Regions from separate parts of the Homo sapiens genome. Here all the other regions are linked to region 6. The links are contacts of gene promoters, found by promoter capture Hi-C in blood cells and fetal thymus (Javierre and others, 2016). All regions are on one chromosome and are shown on one strand. The core of a region is centred on a gene start or on the middle of the fragment in contact, and the rest is flanking DNA. Distances in the headings are between cores, read along the strand shown.

What was found. The method cuts DNA at HindIII sites, captures the fragments that hold promoters and counts their contacts. A CHiCAGO score of 5 or more calls a contact.
Region 1: a fragment that was not itself captured here is called in contact with the fragment with the promoter of DENND3 in region 6 in 1 of 17 cell types (naive B cells); the score reaches 5.3 in naive B cells.
Region 2: a contact is called between a fragment that was not itself captured here and the fragment with the promoter of DENND3 in region 6, in 2 of 17 cell types (total B cells and naive B cells). The highest score is 5.5, in total B cells.
Region 3: a fragment that was not itself captured here is called in contact with the fragment with the promoter of DENND3 in region 6 in 2 of 17 cell types (neutrophils and monocytes); the score reaches 10.0 in neutrophils.
Region 4: a fragment that was not itself captured here is called in contact with the fragment with the promoter of DENND3 in region 6 in 2 of 17 cell types (neutrophils and monocytes); the score reaches 9.9 in neutrophils.
Region 5: a fragment that was not itself captured here is called in contact with the fragment with the promoter of DENND3 in region 6 in 2 of 17 cell types (naive B cells and total B cells); the score reaches 5.5 in naive B cells.
Region 7: a contact is called between a fragment that was not itself captured here and the fragment with the promoter of DENND3 in region 6, in 2 of 17 cell types (neutrophils and monocytes). The highest score is 9.6, in neutrophils.

The regions. Positions count from the first base shown.
Region 1 is chr8:140,885,632-140,889,529 of GRCh38, reverse strand. All of the region lies in intron 3 of PTK2 (protein tyrosine kinase 2), which reads left to right. Among named protein-coding and RNA genes, the nearest start is that of PTK2, 110 kb to the left of the region's middle. The HindIII fragment of the contact is 5,639 bases long and covers 1-3,898 here.
Region 2 is chr8:140,961,587-140,965,141 of GRCh38, reverse strand. The region is part of intron 1 of PTK2 (protein tyrosine kinase 2); the gene reads left to right. Among named protein-coding and RNA genes, the nearest start is that of PTK2, 38 kb to the left of the region's middle. The HindIII fragment of the contact is 4,308 bases long and covers 1-3,555 here.
Region 3 is chr8:141,277,335-141,281,055 of GRCh38, reverse strand. The region is part of intron 1 of SLC45A4 (solute carrier family 45 member 4); the gene reads left to right. Among named protein-coding and RNA genes, the nearest start is that of SLC45A4-AS1, 25 kb to the right of the region's middle. RefSeq lists enhancers at 2,279-2,358, 2,369-2,438, 2,205-3,014. The HindIII fragment of the contact is 2,910 bases long and covers 634-3,543 here.
Region 4 is chr8:141,298,710-141,302,516 of GRCh38, reverse strand. All of the region lies in intron 1 of SLC45A4 (solute carrier family 45 member 4), which reads left to right. Among named protein-coding and RNA genes, the nearest start is that of SLC45A4, 7.7 kb to the left of the region's middle. RefSeq lists enhancers at 1,026-1,874, 1,875-2,724, 2,767-3,473. The HindIII fragment of the contact is 1,255 bases long and covers 1,640-2,894 here.
Region 5 is chr8:140,932,142-140,935,884 of GRCh38, reverse strand. All of the region lies in intron 1 of PTK2 (protein tyrosine kinase 2), which reads left to right. Among named protein-coding and RNA genes, the nearest start is that of PTK2, 67 kb to the left of the region's middle. The HindIII fragment of the contact is 8,898 bases long and covers 1-3,743 here.
Region 6 is chr8:141,127,339-141,130,038 of GRCh38, reverse strand. DENND3 (DENN domain containing 3) reads right to left here and starts at 1,450. Exons shown (of 23, transcript NM_001352890.3): 1 at 1,230-1,450. The coding sequence starts at 1,331. It overlaps DENND3-AS1 (DENND3 antisense RNA 1), which reads left to right. Exons shown (of 2, transcript NR_183310.1): 1 at 1-15. RefSeq lists enhancers at 359-1,189, 2,023-2,700 and a silencer at 1,045-1,904. The HindIII fragment of the contact is 7,380 bases long and covers 1-2,700 here.
Region 7 is chr8:141,327,338-141,331,010 of GRCh38, reverse strand. No RefSeq gene overlaps it. Among named protein-coding and RNA genes, the nearest start is that of LINC01300, 11 kb to the left of the region's middle. RefSeq lists enhancers at 833-1,367, 1,368-1,904. The HindIII fragment of the contact is 5,383 bases long and covers 1-3,673 here.

The DNA.
Region 1 (3,898 bases), core at 1,130-3,629, 240 kb after region 6:
AGGTCGGGCATGGTGGTCCATGCCTGTAATCCCAGCACTTTGGGAGGCCAAGGTGGGCAGGTCACTTGAGGTCAGGAGTTTGAGAGCAGCCTGGCCAACATGGCGAAACCCCATCTCTACAAAAAATACAAAATTAGCCAGGTGTGGTGTCACATGCCTATAGTCCCAGCTACTCAGGAGGCTGAGACAGGAGAAACACTTGAACCCAGGAGGCAGAGGTTGCAGTGAGCTGAGATCGTGCCACTGCACTCTAGCCTGGGCAACAAAGTGAGACTGTCTCAAAAGAAAAAAAAGAAAAAAAAGATTTAAGGCTAAAGTCTTGTATATAAATTTTACATAATTTTTTGTTACCTCTAAATTTTAATATTAGCAAACTATTCAAATGGATTAATTATTAAAAATATGATAGCCTCTTTTTTTTTACAAACTCTTTATGAAGCTGGTTAGCTTTTTTGCGTTTTCTGTTTTTTTTCTACTTCTGTGTTTTACTTTTAACTTTATAAAACACTGTCATTTGGTAGAAAGGCCTGCAATGAGCATCCTGCCATAAGGTTTATCAGATAATTCATACTGGAAAAAAACCTTGTAGATGTAACTTTATGTAAGGCTTTTAGTGTATGTTCTAGTCTTTGTAGATTTCAGATACAGTGAATGAGGAAACTCTCCAATAAAACCATTGTATCAGCCCTAATGAACTCTAGGGCATTCATACAGGAGGGAAACCTTTCAAAGATTATGAATTTGACAAGACATTTAGCAAAAATGTTCAAGACTTACATCAGAAGACTCACCTAGGAAAGATTTTAACAGATGTGCCATGGTTTTAGTATCAAACTTTCTGCATGTAAGGGGATTACTACCATAGAGTCAGTGTCACTGCAGGCATGTTAGCCTTTAGCCAATGTTAAAAACTTCCTAGTCATACATTCATATTGTGAAGAAAAATTTACATCAGATACAAATGTATAAGTTATCAGAACTCATTTAGCAAACTTGTGAAGATCAATCTGATCAAATCTATGTGGCCACAAACAACGTGTTTTATTTCACAGTAATTGGCAAATTATCAGTCAGTGATTTTCAGATTGAGGCAGAAAAATCACAGTTGGCATTGAATTCACCATAGCCCTTTCCTGGGATAGCATGAGGTTCTCATGATACTGAGTCACTGTAATGGAAGATTGGATATTATTCATAACCAACTTCCATTGAATGCTTTAATGCTATAACATTTGAAAATGCAATATCATAATTGTAAATTAATGAGTGGATTTGTACATCTGAACAAAGGGACTGAACAACATAAGAGGTATCAGACAAAGGAACATTATGGATACAGAGTATTGTCAGGAAAGAGAAAAATGGAAGAAACATGACAGCATTTGAAGGCCTGATGACCTTAGAACAGGAAGTGGGGATTGTAGGATTTAGATTTAAGGATTAGATTAGTAAAGAATCCAAGTATAATTACTTGTCAGAAAGAAACTGACCATTGAATAGCATCAAAGGGGATGCCACACAACTATTTTCTGAAATGATACGGCTTATTGTTATTCAGGTACTGAATAACTCGATTCAGTCTTAAACTCATTATAGCTACGTTGCCCATTATCGTAGCCATGTGCAGTTGTTGAGCACTTGAATGTGGCTAGTCTGAATTGACATGTGCTATAGTATAAAAATATATACCACATTTCAAAGAGTAAGAAAACAGAATAAAATATATCAATGTGTTATGATTACATGTTAAATGATAATACTTTTGATATAGTAGGTTAACTGAACTATATTACTGAAATTGAATTTACCTGTTTGTTTTTATTTTATTTTTTTACTGTGACTACTAGAAATTTTAAAATTACTTATGTGGCTTGCATTATATTTCTGCTGGACAGTGGTGTTCTGTAGAAAGCAAATTCTCAGAAAGACTGCTTGGTTCAGAAAAAACAAAACTTTTTGAGGAGTTTAAAGATTTGTTTTCACCAAGAATATCTGGATTTTTGTAACATTTCATTATAGAGCCTTTATCATGCTTCAGTTAATAAGTATTAGTGCTTTTACAATTATGTGTGCTAATTGTATGTTAATTAATGTTTGATTGTTGAAAAGATTTGCAAGATTTCACAGTTTATAGGCAAAATCCATTACAGCAACAGTAGTAAAATGATACTCATTGAAGTGATCTGGAGATCTTGGGTACAGGCTTCTTGGCCTTGGACATGATTTTTCTGTAGATGTGAAACCATTACTGGCTTATGTGTGAAGCACCTCAGTATGAGGAAGTGGTGGGGATCTGTGAGAGGGTCACACAAGCACTCTCCATCTACGTAGCCAGCCTCAACCTGTGGACCTCCCCAGGTACTGCCAAAATCAGGTACACCTTGTCAGTCCAGTTATTATTACAAAATCGCACTGACAAGCTGGTATATTCTGCCCCCCAAACAGCTCAGGGTCCCATGATCACAAACATCACTTATCTTGGCCATAGCTTTGGCCAAGTGTCAGTACCGTGCTTCAGGCAGCTCTAGAGATAAGTGTGGGGTCAATCTAGAACAGCCAAGAGAAACCCAGGCTGTACAATGTTGAATAAGACCAGTCATCTAGAAACATGGCAGTGATAATTCAGAAAAATAATGACATAAAATTCCAAATTCTACCAGAGAAATTCCCTACTTAGGAGAAAGAATGACGTTTACACCAGACTTTTCATCAGCAATGCTGGATGCAAGAAGACATTGGAACAGTATCTTCAAAGGGCTCAGGGAAAATAACATGTACTTTAGAAGTCTATATCAGATAAATTATTAATCAAGATAATGTGAAATGAAGGTATCTGCAGAGAAGTAGTGACATAGAAAGCTAATAGCATGGGCTCTCTTTGAAAAAACAATTAGATGATATAATGCAGCGTGGAAAAAAGTTGAGCCCATAAGAAAATACTGTAGCAGGATGCAAGAGACAGTGGTCCATTGTCATACTTGCTGCCTTGTATGCTGTCTTGTACCTCTCTTAATGTCCCCGTAGTCTCTTGAATCTACCACCATGATTTAATCCAACCTTCTGCCTATTCTCCACCTGTCGCCATCCTGTGATTGGTTACATTCTAGATTTGCAACCTTAGTGCTACCCAGCTGTCATGCTCTATCCCCCCATCTTGTTCTCTCCTAGACAACCATTTCATACCTCGTCCACTTTCTTCAACCTGCAGTACTTGGAAAAGTCCACACATTTCTATATCTTCCCTTTCCCCAACATTTGTACCTCACTTCTCTGTCTTTACACTTCTTGCTACAAAATAACCATCCAGTGCTCCAGTCAAAGGGTTACCTCATCTTTTAGTTACTCAGATCCATTTGCAATCGTCTTTTATTCCTCTTTTGCTCTCAAGCCATATCGAATACATTAGCTAATCCTGTCCACATTATCTTCAAAAATATATCCAGAACCTACCCATTTCATATTGCCTCCACTGCTACCCCTTTCTTTGAGCTCTTCTTCAGTAGCTGCCTTAAAATGTCTCTTCCATACATTATGGCATGGTATCCTAACTGACATCTTGTTTCCCTACTTGCTCTCCTTAGTCTGTTGACAACCCAGCAGCCAGAATGATCCTGGAGAGATGAAAGCCAGAGCACTTCACTCCTCCACTCAGAACCCGGTTTCATTTAGTCAACATGCACGTCCTTTGAGAGTCTCACCCATCTCCCCCATCCTGTCCCATCATGCCCTGTCACCTCTGTCCTAGTCACTCACTTTTTCTTTCTGCTTCCTGTTTCTCTAACATACTAATCACCGAATCAGTGATTTGCTTAAATCCCCCCAAGAGCTCCCCATTTCTCCCAGACTAAAAGCCAGATTCCTTTTGTGGCCTACAAGGACCTACGGGATGTGGCTCCTT
Region 2 (3,555 bases), core at 528-3,027, 170 kb after region 6:
GTTTGGATTTTGTTTTCTTTAAAAGTAATAGTGTTTTTTTCTAAACAATAGAAATCAGGTTTCCTAATGCCCAGGCCGACACTCTTCATATTACATGATGCATGCAATGTCAAAAAAGGATTATTAGGTCTTAGTTTCCATATCCGTTCATGATAGCAGGACCATCAAAATTCTGTAAAGCCATTGGTGAATGTTCTGTCTTTTGGAGAGAAAGAGGATATAGGATAAATACCTTTTTTCTTGGGAGCAAAGAATATGTAGTTGAAACTCATTAAGGGCAAGCAAGGTCTGAGTGTCTTTGAATTTTTGTTCCTGGAATGATGCCAGGAATGTATAGCAGATCTCTGTACATGAATAAATGAAAAAACCTTTCTTTGCATTTGCATATACTGTTGCTAGCATTATACTTGGTTCTGAAAAGTAATAGTTAAATGAGAAATGGTCTCAGTGGCACATGCCTGTGATCCTAGCACTTTGGGAGGCGGAGAGAGGCCAAGACGGGTGGATCTCTTGAGTCCAGGAGTTTGAGACCAGCCTGGGTAATATAGTGAGACTCCCCTCTCTACCAAAAAAAAAAAAAAAAAAAAAAAAAAATTACCTGGGGCTGGGGGTGGTGCCCACCTGTGGTCCCAACTACTTGGGAGACCGATGTAGGAGAATCGCATGAGCCTGGGAGGTTGAGACTGCAGTGAGCTTGATCGCATTGCCACAATCCAGCCTGGATGACAGAGTGAGACCCTATCTCCAGAAAAAAAAAAAGAAATTAGCTGGCGCGTGATGGTGTGGCTGAGGGAGGCTCAGGTGGGAGGATTGCTTGAGCTCAGGTGTCTGAGACTACAGTGAGCTAGGCTCTCCTCACTGCACTCCAGCCTGGAAGATAGAGCAAGACCCTGTCTCTTAAAAAACAGGCAAATTATTGATTATAGTTCAGTGGGCTAAATCCTGTGGTAGAAACATTCATGCATAGGGTGGTGCATCCACATCAGTCTTAGGTGGGAGGAGGGTCATGGAAGGCAGATTTTTGGTTGCACTTGAACTGAACTTTGAAGGATGATTAGGAGTAAGCTGGGTGGGGGAAGGGAAGAACCTACCAGGCAGAAGGACTGGCATAAGTAAAGGCTTGTTTGTAAGAAGTAGCATGGCACATTAAGGGAAGTTGAGGTTGTTCAGTATGACCCTACCGTAGAAAAGGAATGAGCAAGTGATGGAAAATGAGATAGGAAGCTAGTGGTTTGGTTCTGTTCTTTCTCTCCTTCTCCCTCTTAACCCCCTAACCCCCCTCAAGTTCTCCTCTTCCCTGTTCCCCCTGGAATATTCTATTTGGAATGGGATGATGAGAAATATTTTGAGGAGGAAGAGGTAAAGGCTTAGAAGGTATGCTTTGATGCCCCAGATAAATGTCAGCAGAATAGGGAACACAGTTGGAAAATTGCTTTTCAAAGCAAAGAATTTCTAATATCCCTCAAAGTAATGAGAGCTGTTGAAGACTTTTGAGCGGTTGACATAATTTGTTTTAGGAAAGGTCACTCAGGTAGGTACTGGTGAAGAAGTTGAATTGAAGGGGGCACTGTAATAAAGAAAGTAGATCAGTTAGGAGGTTTTGTTTTGTTTTTGTTTTTGCAACACTGTAACTTGAATTAAATGGATGGCCATAGAATTGGAGAGCAGGGATCTTAGGGGTGAGAGATAAGTGAGGTGAAAGAGTTAGATTGGGCAACTGGTCATGGTTAAGGGCAGGATTTTTGGGGTCAGACACCTGAATTTGATTCTTAGCTTGGCTTTTTATTATTATGTGACTTTGGAAAATTAGATAACCTTCTAAATCTGAACTTCCGGAAATGTGTAACAGGAATAATTCCTTGAGAGGTTATTTTGAGGACTGAGTACTCCTAAGACTCTTAGCACAGAGTATAGCTCGTGGAAAGAATTAGTTAAGAGGAGATGCTATTATAAGCTGTTCATTGTTATAGGGTATATATTTATAGGAGGAAGAACATATATAGGCTGTATTAGAGGGAGAGGCAAGGCCTTAAGGTTCGTGCGTGTTGGTATCAGTGGTCTGTTACAGGGCTGAGGAAACTATAGCACGTGGGCCAAATCTGCTTTTGTAAATATGTATTTATTGGGATGCATTCAAATTGTTTATATATTGTCTATGGCTGCTTTTGCACTGCAAAGGGAATGTACTTAACACAAAGAATAGGGTCCCCAGGAGAGCACTTAAAGGGCAAGCAGAGGAAGCCTAGGTAGGTTGGGTTGGGGGGGGGGACCTACAAGGGCCAGGAAGTTTGTAGGATTGCCATGAGTGAGGAGTGTCACTAATGCTGGGAAAGGAGGGTGGACATTCTGTGGTTTTTTTTTTTGAGGGAGTCTCGCTCTGTCACCCAGGCTGGGGTGCAGTGGCGTGATCTCAGCTCACTGCAAGCTCCGCCTCCCCGATTCACGCCATTCTCTGCCTCAGCCTCCCGAGTAGCTGGGATTAGCCACCACGCCCGGCTAATTTTTTGTATTTTTAGTAGGTTTCACTGTGTTAGCCAGGATGGTCTCGATCTCCTCACCTCATGATCTACACGCCTCGGCCTCCCACAGTGCTGGGATTACAGGTGTGATGACTGTAGAGTATGCTCGAGCTGTGTGTCCTATACAGGAGGCCCCTCAGGCCCCTCACAGAGTATGTGTGTTTGTAGTAGGCATAGTATACTGATAGAGCTTTTGGCATTGCTGGATGCTTGTACACAGTTTTCTTTAGCTCTTTACTATGGGACTGCTGTCTTCATTGCCACACAAAACAGCAAGAATTTGTTGAAATGAGTAAAAATAACCACATAATTTTTTTCCCTCCCTCCCTCCCTTCCTCCCTCCCTTCCTCCCTCCCTTCTTCCCTTCCTCCCTTCCTTTCTTCCTTCCTTTTTTTTTTTTTTTAAATTTTGAGACAGAGTCTTGCTCTGTTGCCCAGGCAGTGGTGTGATCTCAGCTCACTACAACCTCCACCTCCCGGATTCAAGCGATTCCCCTGTCTCAGCCTCCTGAGTAGCTCCTGGCTAATTTTTGTATTTTTTTTAGTAGAGACGGGGTTTTGCCATGTTGGCCAGGCTGGTCTTGAACTCCTGGCCTCATGTGATCCACCTGTCTCTGCCTGGGATTACAGGCATGAGCCACCACACCAGGCCCAGATATTTTTGAGTTTAAAGATACTAACTCAATAAATTGCAAAAGAGGAGGCAGTTTTCCTAAAACACCACCACTCCAGTTGGGTTGTATGGTTGAAGGGATAAACCTCTAAATGAAATCTTTAAAAGAATTAAACCTATAAAAGAAACCTTTGCTTTCTTTTATCTAAAATTTCCTTACCAGGCTTAAATCATTGCCTTTTAAAAAATGTGTACTATAAGTACTTTTTGTTAGGTGAGCTCTCTAGTATTAACTTGGTGAGACTGATTTGTAGTACCAAATCTTTTTTTTTTTTTCTTTTTTCTTTTTGAGATGGAGTCTCGCTGTGTCGCTCAGGCTGGAGACCAGTGGCGCGACCTTGGCTCACTGCAACCTCCACCTCCC
Region 3 (3,721 bases), core at 839-3,338, 150 kb before region 6:
AGACTGATTCAGACTTTTAAAGTCTGTTTTTCTGCACCAGGGGAACTCGTGCGATGCTGAGAGGATGCCTGGACTCCGTTGTCTTTGAGTAGGAAAATGTGCAGGAGAAGGCAGCCTGGTGTAGGACGCACAGCCCGGTCTTGCGGAGACCTCACGAGGCCCTTTTCCTTTCCCTCCCCTGGGAGAAGCAAGGTCGTGCTAAGACAGTCCTTCGGGAGGTGCCCGGACAGGGACCTGCTCTCTGCACACCCACCTGTTGGGGAGGATTCCAGTTACCTGTGCGAGTCAGGCTCTGTCCTGACAGCTTGCTTCCTGTGTGTGTGGAGCTGCACGCTGTCGCATTACACGAACAAAAACCCCCATGGTGGAGGTACGGGTGGGGCAAAAACACACCCTGCAGAGGGTGGGCCAGCCTAGCACCCACTCAGCCTGGCTGTTTGGAGTCTCAACCTGGGATTGCTGATAGCAGGGGCCCCGAGTGACCCACTGCCCTCAGAGCCGGCCTCAACACCATGTTGCAGGGGCCCCGCGTGACCCACTGCTCTCAGAGCTGGCCCCAACACCATGTTGCATTTGGTTACCCAGGTTACTTAAATGTCTTTCAAGAAAGTAAGTTGGAATCAAATCTAAGCTTGAATGCTCCTTTGTTCCCTTTTATTTCCAACAATCATCTTAAAACCTCTCCTTTTAGTTAAGTCCATTTTCCACCTATTCCTGTTTGCTGTGGGTGGCTTATCTGTTGCCAGGCGCCTGGCCATCAGGGATCCAGGAGACAGAGTCGCAGTCCCGCCCTCACGAGCCAGTGACCCCAGGACAGGGTGGGCAGGGGGCACGTGGGGCCCAGAGGATTGGTGCCCTTGCTCTGTCTCACTCACAGTGCCCAAGGTGAGTCCTGCTGCTCAGCTCGCAGGGGGCTGCATGTGGAGTGTGACACGGGGTGAGGGGCCAGCGTGGTGCTGGGTGCAAGGAGGTGCCTGGGGAGTCGAACTGATGTGCGGCAAGGCTGGAAGCAGTGCCTGGGCCCATGCCTCGCTGCCCTGTGGCCGCCGCTGCTGCCGCTGGTTCTTGCTTTAGAACTGCTGTCTTGGCAGCTTTCACTTCTCATGTAGGCGAGTCCCAAGCTAATATTTATCCTCCAAAGTATCTTAACAATGCTAGATTGCTGAGTGTTTGGGGGGAACTTTATTAATCTTTGAAAGAGTTATTGTTACATTGATAAACTGAGGCACTGTTTACAATAGCCAGATTGTGTTTGGACTTGCAGCCTTTAATTCTGCCGTTAGTTTTTGTTCGCAGATGGAATTGTTTTGGCTGTTCTTGTAAAGACTCCTTTGTCCGTGTGGGTTTTGTTTGTTGCCGGCCAGCGCGGGGCGTGTGCCAGGGAGGGCAGCCTGGCCAGGGAGGGGTGCGCGATGCACCAGGTCAGGTGTTTCCACTGCATGATTGGCAGGCTTCTCGGGAATGCGGAATTGTGTACTCGAAGCCCCCAACTTTTTATGAATTGTCGGTTTACAACTGAAGGCATCTCCTTCCAGAGGGAAAGCTGGCCTCCCTCATCAAAGACTTGCAACGTATGTGAAAGAGCAAGTGACAGACGTAAGAATGGGGGTAGAGGGCATTGAGATGTGGTCCGTGGGATTGCAGGTGTAAAGGAAAATGACACTCTTAGCCGACTTGCTCCTTCAAACAAAGTCAGCTATGAGTCTGTCCTGCGGATGTTACTTTTCAGTAAAGCCAGACTTGTCCTGGCTCCCCTCCAGAGCCGTTTCCTTCACCTGGCAGCCATCCTGGGCTTCTGAGTAGGCGGATGGGAGGCAAGGAAAGGCCGCCTGGCACGGTGGGGATAGAGCCAGGGCCCCGAGGCCACAGGGGCTCCCACGAGCATCGGCCCTTCCTTTCCAGGCTGCGTGGGGGAAGGAGGTGAGAGGAGAACCAGCAGAGCCTGGAGGTGGGTCCCGCAGAATGTGGGAGCCGTCACAGAGGTGGGGGTCTTGGGGTGAAGGCTGGAGCTGGAAGGTGTGGAAGCCAGGCCCAGCCAAGCCTGTGGAGAGAAACTGTGCCCACAGGCTGGGGGCCAAGGTGGGGGCTGGGGCTTTGCTTGTCTGGCCTTGAAGGGGACAGAGCAGGCTGAGGTGTGCTGCCCTGGAGGCTGGAGCCCTGGCCCCCAGCAGCCTGGCAGTGAAATGTGCCTGGGGGCAGTAGGGACAGAGCCCGGGGCAAAGGATGCCCCCAGCAGGTCTGAGCAGCCCTTGCTGCATCCTGCAGTGCTGCCCACTCCCTTGCGGGTGCGTCTGTGCCTTGTTGAGACGTTAGCAAGGAGCCCAGCTTCCTCTCTGGTCAGCTGATTGCATTGCATTTTTCTGCTCACTCACAGTTCCTCTATTTCCTCCACTTGCTTGCCTGTGCTGCCCGTGGGGGCTGTGGTCAGCACTCAGCTGCTGGTGGCTAGGGGGCAGAGGCCTGTCTCTCCTTCGGCTGCCCGCCCCACCTCCACTGCAGGTGCTCACCCCTGTCTCACCAGTGTCCTCGTGGGTCGGCCGCCCGCCCCGCCTCCACCACAGGTGCTCACCCCTGTCCCGCCAGTGTCCTCGTGGGTTGTGCTCACCCCTGTCCCGCCAGTGTCCTCGTGGGTCGGCCGCCCGCCCCGCTTCCACCGCAGGTGCTCACCCCTGTCCCGCTAGTGTCCTTATGGGTTGTGCTCACCCAGTCTCGCCAATGTCCTCATGGGTTTCACAGACCGAGGAGTCCCAGTTGGCTCAGTTGTTGGGTTGCACCGAGATCCCATCGGGGAAACCCACTGCCTCACGAGTGTGGCCTCAGCCCAGGCTCCCTATGTGCTGCAGGAGCTCAGCTCAGCTGCCTGGTGCTGGGGCTGTCAGAGGGCGGGGCTGCTGCTGAGGCAGGTGCAAAAGTGTAAGGGTGTGTCCTGGAACTATTCGCAGATGAGAAGTGTGCTGTATTTAAAACAGTGACTTATAAGTCGGACATGGATGTTGGCATGCATCTGTAGTCCCAGCTGCTTGGGAGGCTGAGGCCGGAGGATTGCTTGAGCCCAGGAATTTGAGGTCACCAGTGAGCTATGATTGCACCACTACATTCTAGCCTGGACCACATGGTGAGACCTTATCTCTTAAAAAATTGTTTTTTTCACTTTGTGAGGCTGAAGCAGGCGGATCACGAGGTCAGGAGATCGAGAGCATCCTGGCTAACACGGTGAAACCCCATCTCTACAAAAAAAATACAAAAAAATTAGCCGGGCGTGGTGGTGGGCGCCTGTAGTCCCAGCTACTCTGGAGGCTGAGGCAGGAGAATGGCGTGAACCCGGGAGGCGGAGCTTGCAGTGAGCCGAGATCGCCCCACTGCACTCCAGCCTGGGGGACAGAGCAAGACTCCATCTCAAAAAAAAAAATGTTTAAAGATAACACAATTTGAAGATTTTTTTTTTTAAGAGTAAAAGGGTGGACTTTTTAGTGAACTAACAGTAAAATCTAAAACATCTAAAGTACGTGAATCATGTTGATTTTATCACGTCTGTGATAAGCTTTCAGGTCTCACTATCATTTGGAGTTCACATAAAGTAAATACAGTTTATTGATGAATTTGAGGACTCCATTGTGTCCAGAGTAGCTTGGCTTAATTATTTTTCTAGGTTTAAACACTGTTGTGTGTCAGCTTCATGAACCTTTGTCCATCACTTAGCAAGGTTTTAATATTCGGGCAG
Region 4 (3,807 bases), core at 1,018-3,517, 170 kb before region 6:
ACTAAAAATACAAAAATTAGCCAAGTGTGGTGGTGCACGCCTATAATCCCAGCTACTTAGGAGGCTAAAGCACAAGAATGGCTTGAACCTGGGGGCAGGGGTGGGGTCGGGGGGAGGGAGGGCAGCGGGGATGGGGGTGGTGGTGGTGGTGGTGGTGATGGTGAGTGGCGTGGAGGTTGCAGTGAGCCAAGATTGCGCCACTTCACTCCAGCCTGAGCGAAAGAGCAAGCCTCTGTCTCCATCTAAAAAACAAAAAAAACTTTGAAAAACTATAGACACATTTTTAAGTTGATGTTTAAATTTTTGGTCCTAATTTGAAACAACTGCAAAAGATGCAATTTCTAGTATAATGTTGGCATTTAAAAGTAACCATTGTATTGCTTTTTAAAAAGTATCCAATGTTAAATATCCTAATGATACCTACCATCAGTCACCCTTTTAAAAAATGAACAAATTGTTCTTAACAGTCTTGACAAGGCAGTTTTTTTCTTTGTGAACTTGTATGTTTGCTCCATTTGAAAGTCTTTTCATCCCTCATTCTTTTTTTTCTTTTTTGAGACAGTGTTTCCCTCTGTCACCCAGGCTGGAGTGCAGTGGTGGGATCAGGGCTCGCTACAGCCTTGACCACCTAGGTCTATGCAATTCTCTCTCTCCAGCCTCCTGAGTAGCTGGGACCACAGGTGTATGCTATCATGCCCAGCTAGTTTTTATTTTTATTTTTTGCAGAGATGGGGTCTCACTGAGTTGCCCAGGATTTTTTTTTTTTTTTTTTTTTTTTTTTTGAGATAGGGTCTCATTCTGTCCCCCAGGCTGGAGTCCAGTGGTGAGATCATGGCTCACTGCAGCCTCGACCTCCCCGGCTCAAGTGATCCTCCCACCTCCACCCTCCAGGTAGCTGGGCTTATGCCCAGCTAATTTTTCTTTGTATTTTTGGCAGAGACAGAGTTTCACCATGTTGCCCAGGCCGGTCATGAACTCCTGGCCTCAAGCGACCCTCCCTCCTGCCTCAGGCTCCCAGAGTGCTGAGATTACAGGCATGAGCCACTGCACCCGACCTATGGACTGTTCTCCATACTTCTCTGTGACAAAAGTATATATTGCAATTTAAAACATTTCTGTGATCATTAGGCTATGTTAACATCCAGAAGAATGTTTTATGTCATTGTAATTATCAGTACAGAATTGATCACAGAAACATAAATATCATTGATCTTGATAAACAATTACTAAATGCACAAAATACACCGGAAGGAGGTCTCAAAGAGCTGGGGGGTGGGGCCCGTTTAAGGTGCCTTAATTAAAGGGATAATTGAACTGTCCCTGGTACCGGGTACATCTCTGTTGCTGGAACGTTCCCTGGGAAGAGTGCCTTCCTCTTGTCTAGGCGGGGCAGGCAGGCTGGAGGTGGGGGCTCCCTGGGCACCGGGACTTTCTCCACAGCAGCTTCTCAGGCAGTCCAGTTTTAGGCAGGCGTTTGTGGGGACCTTGCGGCTCTCTGAGTTCCCCACACCGGAGGCCCCTCAGGATGCTCCTGTGTTTGCACGGGGCGCTTGCTGTGCTGTGTTCGCACACTTGGTCCACGGGTAAGGTCCACGCCACTTCGTCGAGTCACGGGGTCCGTGCTGCTCCATGTTAAGCTTTACTATTTAATTGCCTGTTTTCTAAATGCGCAGTGTTAAAGGGCAGAAGATGAACCATTTCACGAGTAAGCACGCTGCGGCATTTTCATCTGGTTGGGCTAAAATGTAAGACAGTGGAATTGTGCCTCGGGTTAAATTTTAATTTGACAGAAAGGTGTGTTAGAAGCAGAGAAGACTGACATGGCCAGACTTTAGATTTGCTAGAGGTTTTTGCCTGGCAGGAATCTGGTCACCCTGCTCCGCCCTTCTTCCTGCACAGGGCATCGCTGTGCCTGTTCCGGAGCGAGGCAGCTGGTCTCAGGCCATCAGGTTGCCATTAGGATCAGGGCCATGGGGTGGGTTGGGAAGGTGGGCCTCTGCCCGAGAACCAGATGAGGCTGGTCCGGGGCGTTGACACTTGGCATCCCTGAGAATTTGCTCAAATCTGGAGATGCTCAAAAAGTAGAAAGATTTACTATTTTTAGCCTTTAGACCTAATGAAATTTGGTAAGAAAATCAGTTTAGTAACCAAAAAACCACCACTTCCCATCCCACTCAGAAACAGCACGCTGAGGACTGAGAGCAGTAGAACTTTGCGTTGTGTGATGGTTTTATGACATAAGAGGAGATTTGACGGACCTGGGGTCTCTGGTGTCTCCCAGCTTTGTTGGAGGAAAGCAGGCTACTCGCCCAACTCTGTGGAATCGGTAATGTGGGTCCGGCTGAAGTTTTAACCTGTCTTCTGTCCTCAGGGCTGGCCATTAGGAGTCCACTAAGAATGCGTCACTTCCAATTCGGCCATGCAGCTATTTGGGGAGGCGATGATGTCGTCAGATCATGGGGCCAGTGCCTTCATTCCAGGGATGGGTGAGGAGAAGAGCAGTTCCACGGTCGTGTTCTAGGAATCCTGCGGTTTAAACAGTGAAGAACGGGACCAGGAAGACAGGCCAGCCCCTAATTACCCCCACAGAACCGGATTAAATCACCCTGGAAAGGGGATCCTCCATTGGTCCCTTCTCCAAAGCAGCAAATCCTTATATTTTCGTGGTATTTTGGGTATTAATACTGAAATCAATGTTTCAGTCTCTTAAAAGACTTTGAGAAACGTTTTGGCTGCTGAAGAAGAACAGGTACAGCAGAGTCCAGCTGGTTCTAGAAATTCCTGCCCTAACCTGAGGCTTTACTTCAGTATGCAAATCCGCTCCCAGCCAGGAGTACTAGAATAACTGCTAGTGGTTTTTTTCGTGTTGCTTACGTAAAACGGCATTAAAAGCTTGGAGTGTGGAAGTCCTCCCCCATCAGGGCCTGCGCACCACCACCCTCTGCTGGATGAAGCCGGATCCCGGGGCTGCGGCCACGGCCGCTCTGCTGTCCCTAACCGTGCCCATTTGAAGGGCAGCTCTGATTTGGTGGCGAGAACGACACCCACAGCTCAGGTGGTCTTGTTATGGACTTGCAGCCTGGAGCTGGTGTCTCTAGTGTGACAGGTGTCTCCCTAGGTAAGCCGAAGGGAATATCAAGGCTGTTGAAAACATGTCTAGTCCACTACTGAACTATTGAGGTGTCGAGAGTGTTTTTAATTCTTAAAGGCACGGGGCTCCCCGTCCGCTTTCTCCTTCCGTAGAAACATCATGAAGCCTGGCGTCCTCGTTGTGGGTGGGGTGCAGGGAGAGTTTATAGTCCGGGCTGGGCCCTCCTTGGCTTTGTGACCTTCCAGAAGCCACCCAGTGCTCGGAGCTTCTGCTTCCGTGTGGTAACCAGGGTGTGTGAGGGGTTTCTGTCTCCAGCACTCAGTAAGCGCCTGAGAAGGGGTCACAGCAGCACTCACGCTGCTAGACAGTGCGGCATCTGCATCCGTGCCGGGCGCCCAGCTGGGACCTCTGGAGCAGCGCCTGGTGGGGGCACTGGTGAGGGAGAGGAGCCACCGGATACGGCCGGCCTAGTGCAGTTGTGGGCCACTGGGTCGCACTGCTCATCAGCTCCCCCCACCCCCCACTGAAAAGTGCCGTTTGTCTTCTGCGTGGAGAAATGCAGCAGTGCCCTCCATGCCTTGGATTCGACTTTGAGGCACCTTTGCGGTCACTCCCCATGCCAGGTAGCTGCTGCTGGAGGGGGCTCTGTGGCCAGCCCTGCTGTTGGCCCACGCAGCATGCTAGTTCCCACACCCCTCCTCCCTGGCCAAGAGCTT
Region 5 (3,743 bases), core at 810-3,309, 190 kb after region 6:
ACAAGGTCAACACGGTGAAACCCTGTGTCTCCTAAAAATACAAAAAATTAGCCAGGTGTGGTGGCGGATGCCTGTAGTCCCAGCTACTCAGGAGCCTGAGGCAGGAGAGTGGCATGAACCCAGGAGGAGCTTGCAGTGAGCCGAGGCAAAGAGCGAGACTCTGTCTCAAAAAAAAAAAAAAAGATGAGGACATACTGAGCATTGAGATTACATGAACAGCGCATTAGGAAAAAAACTTTCATTTTATTGGTTTCAAATAACAGAGTGAATCTCAGATAGAGGTCTTTGCAAGCCAGTTTGGCATTGGACTCAGCTTTGAACCCCTCCCCGTCTTCCCTTGTCTCTAGTATAGGATAACCCCGTTTATATTCAGGCGAGGTACTAATAACTTTCTTCTGGGAGGACCTGTCTACAGTTGATGGGTCCTGAGGCCAGAGAACCATGGATACATCGCAGCCTAGGTGTTATTTATGCTCTCTAAGAATCTGTCAGGATAAGTCACTCTGAGGCATAGGTGCTTACCTCTGGACCTGGGGTGCTTGCCTTCAGTGAATTGTAATCCTGATTCTTGATTCCTTCTTGAGTTGTTGATATGAATCATTTTTTCTTTTCCACAGTAGCTCCTGCTATAATATGCTCTGGGGCCCTGGGACATTTCATGGGTGTAAAGTAGCTTTTTTCCTTCTGTTTGGTTCTATCGTTTATGGACAGTTTGTCTAATAGATATAAAATAAACATTTATATGTTGTTGAAAAGTTGTTCCTATCTCCCCCTTTCTTTAATGCTCTCATAGTTCTAATTAGCTATACACATTTAACAATTGTGATAATACTTTTAACCTCTGATTGACAACTTACTTAAGATCATGTGTCACTTGTTAATGTTGTAATTGCAGTGCTGATTCAAACTTCAAAATGGAGTTTTTTATGTCCTCCTTTTCTGCATAAACACAGTAACAGTCTAATCTCTCTAACTCCATTTTGATATCTCTTTCTTTTCCCTACAGAAAAGAAAACATCTTGCTAGAGAGAGATCAATAGAGAGTTGTTTTCAGAAGTGAACTTTATATGCAGAAAATAGGAATAAGTCTATAACAACAGATGGTCAGAAAATTTCATCACTGTCATAGCAGAGGCTTAGCAGAATATAACTTGATAAACACTACTTGTTTAAAACTTTTGAGGCCGTTTAGCAGGAACATTGGGGAGGTGTTATTTCTCATGGGTGGTTTAGATCTCTTAGAGCGTTCTGGGCCATTGTGAGGTCTTGTGCATTTGTTCTGAGTCAGATGGGAAGCCACTGGAGGATCTTGAGCAGAGGCGTGACGTAAATTTTAAGAAACTTGTTGGGATGGTTGTGTTCTAAAGTTAAGGAATCAAGGATGATGTCAAGGTATTTTCATTAGCAGCTAGGAGAATGGAGTTGCTAATTTCAAAAAAAAAATTTATTTTTTTATTTTTTAGAGACAAAGTCTCCTTATGTTGCTCAGGATGCTAGAGTGCAGTGGCTATTCACAGGTGTGATCATGGTATGCTGACAGCCTCAGACTCCTGTCCTTAAGCTGTCCTCCTGCCTCAGCCTCCTGAGTAGCTGGGACTACAGGCGCATGACACTGACCCCAGTGCTATTTACTGATTTGGGGAAATCTGTTTCAGGATTAGGTTTTGAGGGGAAAGCCAAGGGTTTATCTTCAATTTCTTATAATTGTAAACAAGATTTTAGACCAATGATTTATTAGATATATGATTTCTTTTCTGTAATGTTTATAGTTCATTTAGGAATTTTAGTTATTTATTTGTGTTTCTTTTTCTTTCTTGGTTGATCTTCTAGAACTTGTTGTTTCTGAATACCAACTGGTGGCTTTTATTTGTTAAAGGTATTTTTTTTTGTCCTTTAGCTCTATGTCATTTATTTTATATTTATCGGCTCCTTTTCCTTATCTTCCTCGTGTGTGGCACTTTAATCTTTGTCTTGTAAGACTTGAAAATCTCTACTCACTGCCTTTAGAGGCTTTGTGTCTTTTTTTTTAAATTGACGTATAATTCTCATACTATACAATGAGTACAATCACCACCATCAATTTTAGAAATTTCCCTCACCCCAAAAGAAAACCCCATACCCACCAGGAGTCACTCTTTATTCCTTATCTTCAGCCCAAGGAAACCACTAACCTACTTTCTTATAGATTTGCCTATTCTGGACATTTTATATAAAAGGAATCAGGCTGTATGTGGTCTCTTGTGGCTTCTAACACTTGGCATAATGTTTTCAAGGTTCATCCATGTTGTAGCATGTATCAGTACTTCATTCCTTTTCATTGCAGAATAATATTTGACAATAAATACACCTTTATACAGTAAGAATACTAATGCTCTAGGATTTAGCGTTCCAAAACCTTGCCTGATTTTTCTGTCTTCTGGCAGCAGTTTTCTGTGAATGCACAGCCTAGATTCTCCACCTGCTTCTTCTTCTCAGAATTGGTAAATACATACCAAAGGTAAAAGTAAATGCAAAAGATCAGCTGAACTTCTGTGGTTTTGAAGTTTTTTAGCCCCTCCTGTTCTTGCTGTCTTCAAACAGATGATTTTTATATTTTATGCAGTTCTTCTGTTTTTTTCTAAAGGAAATGCTCTTCTATTGCCAGCTGTTGCATCTGTCTTGGATTTAGAAATCTCAAGTCTTTTTTTTTTTTTTCATTACTGTTGTTAGAGATCCTGGTTTTAAAAAGTCAGGGGGCCATGTGCGGTGGCTCACACCTATAATCCCAGCACTTTGGAAGGCTGAGGTGGTTAGATCATCGGAGGTCAGGAGTTCAAGACCAGCCTGGCCAACATGGTGAAACCCCATCTCTACTGAAAATACAAAATTAGCCGGGTGTGGTGGCACACACCTGTAATCCCAGCTACTTGGGAGGCTGAGGCAGGAGAATCACTTGAACCCAGGAAGCAGAGGTTACAGTGAGCCGAGATTGCCCCACTGCACTCTAGCCTGGGCGACAGAGCAAGACTTCATCTCAAAAAAAGGGGAAGGAAGACTCTTAGTAAGCTAGCTGTATACAAACCCCCGTCTTGTTTGTCTTCTGTTGTACCCTGATGAGGCAGTTGATTTTAGTCTCTGCTGCTGTTAGTCAGGATCCTTGGACAGAAAAAGAGTGAATGAATACATTATTTCTGCTGTATCATAGAAGATGCAAATATCCATAATTTATTGATTTTGCTAACAAGTTTTTATATGGCATGCTTCCTTTGAAATTCAGACATTTTATGAATTCAAGAGTTTGCTGGTCCAGTGTAAAAATTACATTGTAATTATTTCAATTAAACTAGATATGGCTTTGACAGTTTTGCTTACTGTAGTTCTGGTCCCTGAAAAAAGAAATGGTGGCTCACATCTGTAATCCCAGCACTTTGGGAGGCTGATGCGGGTGGATCACTGGAGGTCAGGAGTTCGAGACTGGCCTGGCCAAGATGGTGAAACCCCCTCTCTACTAAAAAATACAAAAATAAACTGGGTGTGGTGGTGGGCGCCTGTGATCCCAGCTACTTGGGAGGCTGAGACATGAGAATTGCTTGAACCTGGGAGGTGGTGGTTGCAGTGAGCCAAGATTGCACTACTGCACTCCAGCCTGGGCAACAGACTTTATCTCAAAAAAAGAAAAAAAAGAAATGTTAAATATCTTTATTCTTAGAGTGAAACTTTAAAAATTGCGTGATTATGTTTAACATGCATTGAGCAGAAACATT
Region 6 (2,700 bases), core at 201-2,700:
TCTGGCAAATTCGAGGTAGGGAGACAAATCAATCGATGACGTTGCGAGGAGACAGAGGTCAAACGGGATCTACTGACATGACAGGGCGTTGAAGGGAAGGAAAAGTTGAGGGAAACGAGGAAACTATTTCCATAGGAGAATGCTTTTTCACTGAAGTCGAAACTGGCTTGGTACTGACGCCCAGCAGGGGAAACTCCCCGGACACTCACAGACATTCATCTGGTTACTTGCAGGAACATCTGCCTTTCCTGGTGACACCCTCTGCCCTGCAGTCTTCATTTTCCCTGGATAGCCCAGCGTCATTTAAATACTCAGAAGCCTCTCTGCCTTTCTATGCTGTTGTCTGCAAAGAGATGAACGGACCTGTGCAGACGGCTGGCCAGTGACGCCGGGATCTCTAGGTAACATGACCCAGTCACGGTGTCACAGACAGGCGGACCAGGAGGAAACCAGAGACACAGATGGATTCCAGGGAAAGCCAGCGTTACAGAATTAAGAAAAGCTGGGGAAGAAAAAGGAAAACGAGAATTTCCAAAACTGCCGCTTTCCCAGCAGAAGGGAGATGAAGTTGTCACTTTGGCTGCGAGGGTGCAGAGATGGAGGAAGGGTTGGGGGTGGGGGTGGTACCGCAAGGGAGAAAAATAGCTATAGGCTTCATCGCAAAGGGGTTCATGCAGAATACGCGAGGCCGGCGGCTAACTCTAAGATTGCTCTCTCGTTATTCTGTGCCTGGTGCAAAACCCACTACTCAGGGGACAACACATCCCAGCATAAAGAATGAAATCATTTCAGCAGCGAGGGCTGGGCCCGCTAGACCGTGAGGCTCCGGCGGCTTCCGCCCGTTGTCTGGTGCACCCCACCTTCAGAAGCACCTGCCCAAGATGGGAGCGACTGAAGAGAGAGGCCCCAGAGACTCTCCGAGGGGCGGCACCCCCAGATTCCCGGCCGGCGGACCAAGTTCGCAGCTCTCAAAAGACATGTCTCACACCAAGGGCCCCGGGCGGGGAGAGGAGAGAAGAGGGGAGGGGAGCAGGGCGCTGCTCCAGGGCACCTGCCTGAGCTCGGGCGCGATCCCCGGCCACAGGCGCGCGGGGTCACCGCCGGGGGACCGGGACTCAGCCCTCGGAAAGTCCGCGCCAACCCACAGGGCACCCGGGCGCCCGCTCTCCGACTGCTGTCCCGGCTGCCGACTCGTGGCCCACGTCCGCCTCAGTTTCCCCGCCCCTCACCTGCTCGAGACTTCGGAGACTGTCCCGGGGGGCGCCCAGCAGCGCGCAGAGCTCCAGCAGCCCCGAGGGCAGCGACAAGTGCGGCGACGCGGCCTCCGCCATGGCTGCCCGCCGCCCGCCGCCAGTACCGCACTCGGGCGCCTCAGCCGCGCAGTCGCCCGCAGACCCCTGGGGACCAGCCGCGCCGCCTGGGGGCCGGGGGCGCTGCGAGCGCCGTCTGCGGGGCGGGGCTGGAGGCGGGGCCTGGAGGGGCGGGGCCCGAGCCGAGGCGGGGCCTGGAGAGCCCCAGAGGATACCGCGGGGAGACAGAGTTTGGGGGCGGGGCTTGACTGGGCGGGGAGGTTCTGGGCGGGGCCTGGAGTGGCGTGCCCGGCCCTAGGGACCGGGACTTGGGGGCGGGGCCGGTCCTAGGGCGGGTGCTGCTGGAGACCCGCGCGCGGTCGTCATTTCCTAACCCGCCTGCGGGCCCTGGCGCGTGCGCGGCGTCGGAGCAAGCGGCCCCTTCCTTCGGCCCCGCCCAGCCCCGCCGGCCGCCCGCTCCCTGGGGAACCGAGGGAGGAATGGGCGGGGTCCTCAGGTGCCCGGCGACGTCATCCAGCCCCCAAGGCTCCAGGACGCAAAGGGTCCCCTGATCTGGCAGTCCCTGGACCTACCCTGGAGAGCGTGGGGGGACAAAGGCCGGACGCGCCGCCCGCTGCCGCCTCCAGGAAGCCCTCCCTTGCCAGGACAGTGGAGTTGGCCGGGTGTGGACAGCAGGAAGGGCCGGCGGGAAGGGGGGGTGGAAAGAGCCACTCCTGGTTAATAACTCTGCGGGGTTAACCTAGGGCCGGCCATACTCAAGTACGGACTTGAGTAAAATTCAGCAGGAAAAGGAGCAGGGTGGGCGCCGCTAGAGGGAGGCTTCAGGACTGAGGGTCAGAGGCCCAAGGCCTGGCAGGGCCCTTCCCTGGTCAGCTCCAGGCTTGGCCTGATGCCCGGTGGGCCACGGGCCTCTTCCAGCCTCAGGCTGACCCCAGAGAAAGAGGACAGCCCACAAGCCCGGGAGGCCGGCTTGCTGCCTGGTCATTGCTGCAGAGCCTGGAGGGGGCCTGCGCTCAGTCCCCGCTGACCGTCCCCTCCCTTGACCCTGCCATAGCCATCTGTGTAACCCAGGGGAAATTATTCCAAAGGGACTTCCACTTCTGATAATCTATGATTCTATTTTCTAAAAAACAAAACTCTAAAATGCTTAATGTCAAACATCTGTCATCAGCTGAACAGGAAAAGGAACAGTAAGTACAAAGCAAGGCAACATCAGAAAAGGGAGCCCTGAGGAATTTCTCCCTCCTTCCCTGAGCCGGGTGAGGCCGTGACTGCAGCCTGACTCACAGGTTTTATTTCACTTATTAACCTAAAGATGGTGAGGATCTGCTGGTTCTCCCCCAGGCCTGGAGGCTGCCTACCATCGGTGGCTCTCATCGGTGAGCTGAGG
Region 7 (3,673 bases), core at 935-3,434, 200 kb before region 6:
CGTGTCCCCGCAGGCTTCTGCACCTCTAGCTCACACCACAGGCTGCCCAGGTGGGGACCTGAACTCGGCTCTTCTCACCCACAACCTCCTGCACCAGGGCCAGCAAATGCTGCCCCTCCTGCTGTTCCCCAGCTTAATTCCCAGCTGAAAACAGAGCAAAGGCATTGGCAAGACCAAAGCCACTTGTTTCCCAAGGACCTGGATTCTGAAGCAGGTGCCCAGGTGTACGGCCACACTGGACACCCTCTTGATCCTCCCTGGAGCTGAGCTAAGGCCAAGGGCTGGCCCCAGCCCTGGCTGCCTAGTAACTATGCCCAGAGGCCCAGCACAGAAGGCGTAGCCTGCAGAGGCGCTGGGCAGAAGGACGGAGCCCTGAAAGTGTGCAGAGGACACACTGCCTGCGGGCAAGCGAGGCTGTGGGACTAAGTGAGCAGTGCAAGGTGCACCGCCTGCCGGCAGCCCTGGGCAGGGACCCCCATCCATCTGCTATGTGCTCCCCCAAGGCCAACCAGGTGTCTCTGCTGGAGACAGTCACAGTTTGTGATCTGTTTAACTGATTAGTGTCTGCTACAGACTGCCAGCTCCAGGAGGGCAGGGTTCTGTCCTGTCCCTTCCAGCTGGACCCCCACGTCCTAGCATAGTGCCTGACGTATCACATGAGCTCGGCCCATATTTGTGAGAAGAAGAGGAAGAGGGAAGGAGAGGCAGGCACCCCAGGGCCGACACGGAGGGCAGGTTGGAGGGTCTGGGAAACTTATTCAGAAGATGGGCCTGGAGCATGAGTGAGTTAGCCTCCACAGCAGCTCAGGGTTTGAGTCCTGAGAGCAGAGTTCAGCGCAGGTGAGAAAAGGCCACATCCCAGGAATGAGGAGCTGGGCCTGACACTTTCCTACGTGGCCACGGACGGCTCTCCTTTAGGGACCACGTGCATTCGCTGCCATCTCTCTCTGGCCCTAGAAGGGACGAACACCCCGATACCTCCATTTTCACAGAGGAGCAGCGGGAGGCCCAGAGGTGAAGGTCCTCACCAGGCGTGCAGCTAGGGTCTGTTCCTAAACCTGTCCTGTGCTGCCCCAGGTGCGGACAGGGGCTGAGGCTGAAGCAGAAGCCGGCCTGCTTGCCTGCTCTGTGTTCCCTGAGAACCCTGGCTGTCTAGTGGGGGCAACCCTGGCATGCCCAGAGACCCCACGCTGTGGTGGGGGAGCCCCTCACAGGCCCAGGCGCAGGTGCATGTCCTCCCTGCCCCAGAGGCCCTCGCCTCCTGCCGCTGCTGGGGGCCGCCCTGGCTGAGCGCCCACCAAAGTGTGAAGTGCTTCCCGAGGGAGTCCATGGGGAAGCCCCAGCCCCGCCTGCTGTGGCTGCATCAAGGAGGCGGCCTTCCTTCCGGGCCCATCGCCTGGGCCTCTGGGGTCAGGCCTCGGGTCACCCTCCGGCTGGGACAGGAAGCCTGACATGAGTCTGGAGTTGGGGGTAGGGCAGGGCCGGGAGCCAGCCCAGCGGGATGGGGATGCCGGCTGTCTGGGCAGACACCGGCGGGGTCAGGGAGGAGGCTGGGGTAGGGTAGCTGCCCTGTGACCTGCCCCCCTGGGATGCCGCAGAGCCCAGGCCCGCTGCTTCCCTCCGGTGCAAGCTGGGATGGGCTGGCAGCTGAATGGAGGGCCAGGAACCCCACCACAGCTCCAGGCCAGGCACCATCATTCCTGCCCTGGAAAAGGGCCTCCTTCCAGCCTCTCTGACTCTACTCCGGCCACCACAGCCCGATGTCCACGTATGTGTCATCCAAGACTGCGGCCTGAGTCTCATCCAAGATGTCATACAAGACTGCAGCCTGTCTTCTGAGTACATGAGGTGCAGCCAGTCCGAATTGAGTTGTACGGTAAGCGTGGAATATGTCCCCACCTAGTATGAGACAGACTGTGAAATATCTCATTCATAATTTGTTATATGAATGACACGTTTAAATAATATATTGGATATATTAGGTTCCATAAAATATATTACTAAAATAATTTGCATCAAATTCTTTTTCCGTTTTCCTAACGTGGCTGATAGAAAATTAGAAATTATTCACGAGGCTGGCATGAGATTTCTAGTGGAGAGTGCTGTCTCTGTGCCGACAGAGGGAGTGTCTCCAATCTAATTCACACCAGTCCCTTCCTTGCTTAAATAAAGCCCATCAGGTCAGGGGAAAGTCTCCCATGTCCGGTGTGGACTTCTCCCAGGACTCAGTCTCACCTCTGCCCACCAACCCCACTTTCCAGCTGCCCCGTGGTGCCACATCTTCCAGCTGCCCCCGTGGTGCCACATCTTCCAGCTGCCCCTGTGGTGCCACTACTGGGCCTCTGCAAGCTGCTCCTTCTCTAGGAGTGCCCTTCCCTAACCCTGTTTCCTCCTTTGTCTAGGGATGTCTTCTGGGCTTTCACAGATGCCTGGAGTGTCACCCTTTCTTCAGTGCTCCCAAGCCCACCTCCCCTGTCCACCCCCAGCAGCCCCTGCCTCAGCCCCGCTGGCTTGGGCTCCAAGAGGCGGGGCACCGTGCCGGGGTCAGGGGATTGAGTAACTTGCCTCGGAGCATCAGTTTGCTCATCTGTGAAACAGGTGCCCCATTCACGGGACCCACATCCCAGGCAGTCACTCAGCTCAAGTGAGGTCATCTAGACAGCCCCCTCAGGGCTGCCGCACAGAAGGGAATCTTTGGCTGGAGGATTAAATGTCCAGGTCGCCAAGCTGGCCACCCTCCTGAACAGAGCTGGTGAATCTTGAAAGAAAAAGAAAAATTGTTTCCGGAGCAGCAGCCCCACACTGGGCCCAAAGGTGATCGATAAGCAGGTCTGGCCCGGCGCCTCTTAGTGCTGAGAGGGCTCCTTCACTTAGGGCAGGGCTGGCTTTCAGACCAAAGCTGGCCAGCCACCTGTTTCTGTAGGACTGCAAGCTAAAATGGTTTTTACATTTTTAAATGGTTGAAAAGAAAACTAAAGAAGGGGCCAGGTGCAGTGGCTCACACCTGTAATCCCAGTAGTTTGGGAGACTGAGGCAGGCAGATCACCTGAAGTCAGGAGTTCAAGACCAGCCTGGCCAACATGGTGAAACCCCGTCTCTACTAAAAATACAAAAATTAGCTGGGCGTGGTGATGTGAGCCTGTAATCCCAGCTACCAAGGAGGCTGAGGTGGGAGGATTGCTTGAACCTGAGAAGTGGAGGCTGCAGTGAGCCAAGATGGTGCCACTGCATCCCAGCCTGGGTGACAGAGCGAGACCCTGTCTCAAAAGACAAACAAACAAAACAAAAACCAAAGAACAAGAATATTACATGAAGTTCTGCTTTCAGTGTCCACGAATCAAGTTTCCTGGGAACTCAGCCACACCCACTCCTTTACATCTGCTGTAAGGCTGCGTGCAAACTGCAGCTGCAGAAGTGAGTCTTACAACACAGACCTCACAGCCCGCAAAGGAGAAAAGATTTACTCCCTGGGCCCTTCCCGAAAGAGTTGGCCAACCCCTGCCTTAGGTAATCCTCCAACCCCTTGGGTGGGTGCTATTGGCCAAGGGGGAAACCGAAGCACAGGGGGGCTAAGTGTGTCCCCCGAGGGCCCCGGCCTTCAGCTGTGCTCCTACCCATCATGATGCCTGGTGCCCGCCCCCATCCCCAGGACCCAGAGGTCAACTACAAGTCC